2 separate regions of the Homo sapiens genome follow, and region 2 is linked to region 1. The links are contacts of gene promoters, found by promoter capture Hi-C in human tissues and cell types (Jung and others, 2019). All regions are on one chromosome and are shown on one strand. The core of a region is centred on a gene start or on the middle of the fragment in contact, and the rest is flanking DNA. Distances in the headings are between cores, read along the strand shown. Region 1 holds the start of PARP2 (poly(ADP-ribose) polymerase 2). Region 2 has its middle 7.3 kb from the start of RNASE8.

What was found. Contacts are between HindIII fragments. The study calls those that stand out against the background at their distance.
Region 2: a contact is called between a fragment that was not itself captured here and the fragment with the promoter of PARP2 in region 1, in 1 of the 25 tissues and cell types used here (dorsolateral prefrontal cortex).

Annotation. Positions count from the first base shown.
Region 1 is chr14:20,341,875-20,345,346 of GRCh38, forward strand. PARP2 (poly(ADP-ribose) polymerase 2) reads left to right here and starts at 1,761. Exons shown (of 16, transcript NM_001042618.2): 1 at 1,761-1,813; 2 at 3,058-3,213. The coding sequence starts at 1,768. It also overlaps RPPH1. RefSeq lists enhancers at 644-743, 1,674-1,843. The HindIII fragment of the contact is 9,658 bases long and covers 1-3,472 here.
Region 2 is chr14:21,048,817-21,052,288 of GRCh38, forward strand. It overlaps a transcript of NDRG2 not described here. Among named protein-coding and RNA genes, the nearest start is that of RNASE8, 7.3 kb to the right of the region's middle. The HindIII fragment of the contact is 6,049 bases long and covers 1-3,472 here.

The DNA of each region.
Region 1 (3,472 bases), core at 511-3,010:
ATTTATTGAGCACTTACATTTTGTTAGATTTATTTCCAACTACTTGATATGCTTTGGTGTTATTGTAAATGCTACCTTATCCAAAAATTTTATTTATAGTTGTTTGAAGCTCTTTTATAAGCATGGAATTTATTTTCACACGCTATTTTCTATCAGTCTTGCTAGGCTTTGTATTAAGGTAAAATTTTTATCCTGTAGTTTCTTCTAGCTTTTAAAATATTCATAATCAAATTACATGCAAATAATGAGATTTTGGGTTTTTTCTTTCTAAACTTTACATCTTTTGATGAACAAAAATTAAAATGTATCAATTTTTTTTTCTTTGTTTTTTTCAGACGGAGTCTCACTCTGTCACCCAGGCTGGAGTTCAGTGGCGGGATCTCGGCTCACTGCAACCTCCGCCTCCCGGGTTCAAGCGACTCTCGTGCCTCAGCCTCCCAAGTAGCTGGGATTACAGGCGCCCGCGACCACGCCTGGCTAATTTTTCACTTTTTTTTTTTTTTTTTTTGTAATAGAGACGAGGTTTCGCTATTTTGCTCAGGTTGCTCTATAACAGATACTATGCTATCCTAACAATATGTTTCTAAATGATATTAGTGCCAAAACCAGGATTACCCAGTGATTTTGTTAATACAGGCTTATTGAATCGGAGGGTCTGGGGTGGGGAATTTGCTTAAGTATGCAGTCCCCATACTCGGTGATTCTCATGAAGCCAAACATTTGGGCGCCCCTCACCTGATGTCACCAAGAACCAGAAGACCAATTAGAATTTTCGTGGGCTTCCTGCCCCATGGTTCCCTCTGTTCCCAAAGGGTTTCTGCAGTTTCACGGAGCTTTTCACATTCCACTCGGTTTTTTTTTTTTTGAGACTCGCTCTGTCGCCCAGGCTGGAATGCAGTGGCGCGATCTCGGCTCACTGCAAGCTCCGCCTCCCGGGTTCACGCCATTCTGCTTCAGCCTCCCAAGTAGCTGGGATTATAGGCGCCCGCCACCACGCCCGGCTAATGGCTAATTTTTTGTATTTTTTTTTTTTAGTAGAGATGGGGGGGGGTTTCACCGTGTTAGCCTGGATGGTCTCGACCTCCTGACCTTGTGATCCGCCCGCCTCGGCCTCCCAAAGTGCTGGGATTATAGGCGTGAACCACCGCGCCCGGCCCGGTTTCGTTTTGTTTTTTTTTTTTTTTTTTTTTTCCAAAAATGGGCGGAGGAGAGTAGTCTGAATTGGGTTATGAGGTCCCCTGCGGGGTACCTCACCTCAGCCATTGAACTCACTTCGCTGGCCGTGAGTCTGTTCCAAGCTCCGGCAAAGGAGGCATCCGCCGGGCCCCTCCCCGAAGGGCGGGGTCCACGGCATCTCCTGCCCAGTCTGACCTCGCGCGGAGCCCCGTTCTCTGGGAACTCACCTCCCCGAAGCTCAGGGAGAGCCCTGTTAGGGCCGCCTCTGGCCCTAGTCTCAGACCTTCCCAAGGGACATGGGAGTGGAGTGACAGGACGCACTCAGCTCGTGGCCCCACTGATGAGCTTCCCTCCGCCCTATGGGAAAAAGTGGTCTCATACAGAACTTATAAGATTCCCAAATCCAAAGACATTTCACGTTTATGGTGATTTCCCAGAACACATAGCGACATGCAAATATTGCAGGGCGCCACTCCCCTGTCCCTCACAGCCATCTTCCTGCCAGGGCGCACGCGCGCTGGGTGTTCCCGCCTAGTGACACTGGGCCCGCGATTCCTTGGAGCGGGTTGATGACGTCAGCGTTCGAATTCCATGGCGGCGCGGCGGCGACGGAGCACCGGCGGCGGCAGGGCGAGAGGTTCGGAGCTCAATATCGCGGGACGGCATGCGGGGGGCGGGCAGTCAGAAAGGAACGATGCCACCTACTGTGACCCCCTTCCCCTTCCAGCTCCCTATAACCTGCACTTGGCTACCAAACCAGTTGGGGTGCTAAATTTTGTAAATTTCGGTTTTCAGAGCTTTGGGGATTACATAATTGTGCATAAAGCCTTGCGGAGCTGTAACAACTAATGTGCCAGTACTGTTGTTAATACCTAATGTCATCCAATTTACAAAAAGTAATTGTAAGGCACACCATTATTTTATACACAACAAAGGATAAGCACTGAAAATGGTGAACTGTGATTCACTGCTTATGTCATCCATTGTAAGATGCATCCCAGTTCCAGAGAGTAAAATGCGAGTCTTAGACCTATTGAGATACGGTATTATGTGTATAATGTTCTTAAATGCATAGGTGCACCCTATAAATTAGGTTCTATTGTACTTCTCTAGAAGTACAGTATTGTACAATATTCTAATATTGGAGTAAGTGAAGTAGGAAGAGATCAAATACTTCTCCAAGTTTCCACAGAGAAAAGCAGCAGAGCTAGGCTCTAAATTAGGCACAGACCCTTGAGCACTTAACTAACCTTTATCCCATACGGCCTCATGTATGAGGTGGGTATTTGGGGGACATTGGGACACAAGTAAAACAGATAAGCAGGCCTCAATCTATGAGCTTACAAGACTCCTGGGACTCCCTTTTATTTTGTTTTATTTCATTTGGCTAGAATAGCAATTTAGGAAGAATTACACAGACTGTTACACAAAAGTAGTGTGGGACAGTTGTTATTGCCTCTGTAAACTTAGAAAATTATCTTAAACCGGCGGGGTGAGGTGGCTCACGCCTGTAATCCCTTGGGAGGCCGAGGAGGGCAGATCACTTGAGGTCACGAGTTCGAGACCAGCCTGGCCAACATGGTGAAACCCTGTCTCTACTAAAAATACAAAAATTAACTGGGCATGGTGGTGCACGCCTGTAATCCCAGCTACTCAGGAGGCTGAGGCACGAGAATCACTTGAACCCAGGAGGCGGAGGTTGCAGTGAGCCAAGATCGCACCACTGCAGTCCAGCCTGGGCGAGAGAGTGAGACTCCACCTCAAAACAAAAAAAGAGAGAAAATTATCTTAAACCATTTCTTTAAAAGATTTTTTTCAATCTTTAAAATCTACACGTATTCGGGTGTGTACTCATTCTTTGCTAATTTCCAAATTCTGTAGCATTAAATGAAAGCAAAAGAGTTAATAATGGCAACACGGCTCCAGAAGACTCTTCCCCTGCCAAGAAAACTCGTAGATGCCAGAGACAGGAGTCGAAAAAGATGCCTGTGGCTGGAGGAAAAGCTAATAAGGACAGGACAGAAGACAAGCAAGATGGTATGCCAGGAAGGTCATGGGCCAGCAAAAGGGTCTCTGGTAGGAGTGGATCTGGGGATGATATCTTGTTATTTCAACTCCTATTTCGTCCTTCTTTCAGGGAATAATTAATTTCTCTATCCTTTGGGCATACCACAGCACTAATCTACTGCCTTGAATCTTCATTTTCATGTATTTGAGATGGATTGGGGTCTAAGGAAAGACCAGGATTGGTTGGGCGGGCAAAGTTAATCCTGACAAGTTTCTGTTTTACCACAAC
Region 2 (3,472 bases), core at 685-3,184, 710 kb after region 1:
GGAGGCCAAACTCCTCCTCATCCGCCTCTTGCCAAAAAGCTCCTAGCCAAGAGTAGATAAGGGAAGGTTCAAGGTCAGACAAAAAGGACAATATGTATTAGTTTCTGTAGATAAGGTTATTTGGGAGGAATGGATGGGTACTTTGAGTTGAAGGAGAAGTAAAAGGGGGCTTTGGAGAATTTCTGTTAAGATTACTTAAGGGAAGTTTTTCTCCTCTGCAACCTCTGTGAATTTATGAATCCAAAGATATGAAAATAAGTTGGAGGACTTAGGACCACTAACTTTTGAGGGTGCCCTCTGTATTCCCTCCCATCCAAAGGATTTGATTATTGCAGCAATTGATGGAGACAGGGCTCTAGTGACATTTCCAACTTCCCCTCCTGAGATATTTAAATTAGTCCTTAGGAAGGCTTACTATCCCCTCACTTCCATCGTGGAAGCCTCTTATATTTTTCCCACCCTCTGATTCAGCTCCATTTTCTGGTTCATTTTTCATCACTCAAAACCTCCACCAACGCCTGTGACTCATGTCCAGTGGATTGGTTATAGCAGAAAAACATTGTGGTCATTACTTTCTATGGTTTTTTCATAGAAACTTAGTTGAACTTACACATTTAAAACATAAACTAACTGTGGTGTGAATTAGTACAAATTCCTGCTTGGGTCGTGGCATTTAGCACAAGATGAAATTTCCTATCTCCATGGCTTTAGGGCTCTCCCAGTAGTAATCATAACATTATAATGCTGCAAGACATCTTGTCCAGTGTTCTCGGAGATCATCTAGTCATGCCTTCCTCATGTTGCAAATGAGCAAAATAACCCTGAGGACTTAAACACTTTGCCCAAGATTACATGAATAATTTAGGCAAGAACTCGGGCTTTTTTGAACAAGCCTTGTGATATTTACAAAGTGGCATTCAATATCAAATGGATCTCAGACATCTTTCTTCTTTTTTTTTTTTTTTTGAGATAGAGTCTTGCTCTGTCACCCAGGCTAGAGTGCAGTGGCACGATCTCGACTCATTGCAACCTTGTTGAGCTTTTTGGCCTCCCAGGTTCAAGCGATTCACCTACCTCAGCCTCCTGAGTAGCTGAGATTACAGGTATGCACCACCATGCCCGGCTAATTTTTGTATTTTTAGTAAAGACTGGGTTTCACCATGTTGGTCAGGCTGCTCTTGAACTCCTGACCTCATGTTCTGCCTGCCTTGGCCTCCCAAAGTGTTGGGATTACAGGTGAGCCACTGTGCCCAGCCCAGATATCTTTCAAGATCAAATCATACATGGACTGGCAAATCAATCTGCAAATGGGCAGACCCCCGGATTTGAGACAAAAGCATGTTCATCCAAAAGAGTATTAAGTGCCCGTAATCCTGACACGTTGCATTTCTGACCTTCACCTGAATGCTCATATTGTATCATTGAGATGGGAAAAAAACAGTACATGAGGAATTGATGGCAAACTAGTCAAGCATGTCCCTGGCCGTGCCATTGGCTGCTGGAAACATAAATAAGGATATGCAACAAGAAAAAGGGCCTGGACCTCCCATCTGCTACTCCGGACCAGGGTGAAAACATTACAGAGATCCTGTTTGGTGGAGCTCCGGGTGGGCCTGAGATATCCCAAGCATTTATCTTTGGTAAGGGTTACCACTTTTTACCCTTGAATTTGGCATATCCAGAACAGGATCTTCATGGTCAACTAGAACCTGCAGAGCAATGCTTCCCAGAATTTCCCCTGAAGTGCTAGTAACCACAGAGGAAGATGAACTAAAACACCTAAAGTAGTGCCCAATGAGCTTGGGCTTTCTCTGAAGCTTCTTTCACTTAACTAATATTTATAAAATAGCCGTGCATATGAGTGTTTTATATGCTATCTTTAAATTTCATTTGTGGTAATAATAATAATGGATCAATGTCAATTTCCCCTTTTTGGTGGCTGTACTGTGGTTATGCACACGAGAGTACTTGTAATTAGGAAATAGTCACTGAAGTATTAAGGGGTAATGAGCATCATGTCTGTAACTTGTTCTGAAATAGCTCAGAAATGTTAATAATTGGGGAACTGGGTGAAGCATATAGGGGAGCTCTGTGTATGCTTTCTGAAACTTTTATATACGTTTTAAATTATTTCAAAGTGAAAATGCTAAAAAAATTTAATGTAACTCATTTGAATTTTTCTATCATACAAAGTTATTTTCTGTAAAAATAATGCCTTAAATTACTCCCCATCCCCTAAAAAGATGGTTTTAGTAAAATTGTAAAGAACACATTTATCTTGTGACTTTGTGTACCCTCTGCACACATCTGTGTTCCACCTGGGGTAGCAGTACACTGGCTCTAATGTTTTCCTTAACTTGCTCTTTGTGGATTTCTGTCTCTGACCAGTGTTTCTTTTCAAGAACTGGTTGAGGAAGATAGGGTAGTCATGGGGCTAGGGCATTGGAAAGGTCCTTTTCATGCTGAAAAATGAGAAAATAGACATAGAGCACTTGGAACAGTGACTGGAACATAGAAAAGCCTCAGTAAATGTTAACTATGATTGTTTTTATCGTTATGACCCCTATCATTCCTAGCAGGGCTGAAGGCTGCACGCAGCCTTGTTGTGGTAAGTCAGAGGTCTCAGGAGGGCAGCCGGCCTATGAGGGGAACTGGCGTATCCAGGGAGCCATATGCCTCAGCTCTGGTTGGGTTGAAGACTACATCCTCTCCCTCATGAAGATGAATCCAGGAGTGAGGAACAAAGGGAGACAGTCCTCCCGCAGAGACAAGCTCATAGTGCAAATGGGCACCATAGGAAGGCCTCAAAGAACTACATAGAAAAGAAAAATGGACCTGGCAGGAGACAGGGTTAGCCACTGGAAACAGAGGAGGGCTTCCCAAAAGGAATGTGGCCACTGGATTCCATGTGATGGAGCTCTGCTTCTCAGAGCCATAAACCAGGGCCCAGACCACAGGTCTGTCACCACCAGGAGGCTGTTTGAAGGTTGAAGCTTGAAAAACCCTATGGGGGTGGCACTTGTAGTTCAAAGACGACCCTCGTGGTACTGCTGTCCTTCAGGCCAGCAAACCAGGCAAACTTCTCTGGCACCCTCGCTCAGCCCTCCTGGGGTATCCTGAAAGAATGGGTCTTTGGGAGATAGTTGCTTATTCTCTGCTCCCCTTCTTTCAAGGCACCTTCAGAGTCTACTATTAGGCCTCTCCTTCATACTAGTAAGGTGCTGGCTACTTACTAGCACTTTGATGTTTTTTCTTGTGTCACACAAGTGTCAGAACCAGGGGGCATTTTAGACATTATTCAACTGAAACTCCTTGTGTTATAAATAGTAAGAAGACTGAGAGGATCAGAGTGATGACTGAGTTCAATGCACGGTTACTGAGTGCTCCTGTGAGCTAGCCATGTGCCTGGCACTATGAAGACAGAGAAGCACGGAAGGACCTGATTCCTGTCCCACGAGTTTACCGTCTAGTT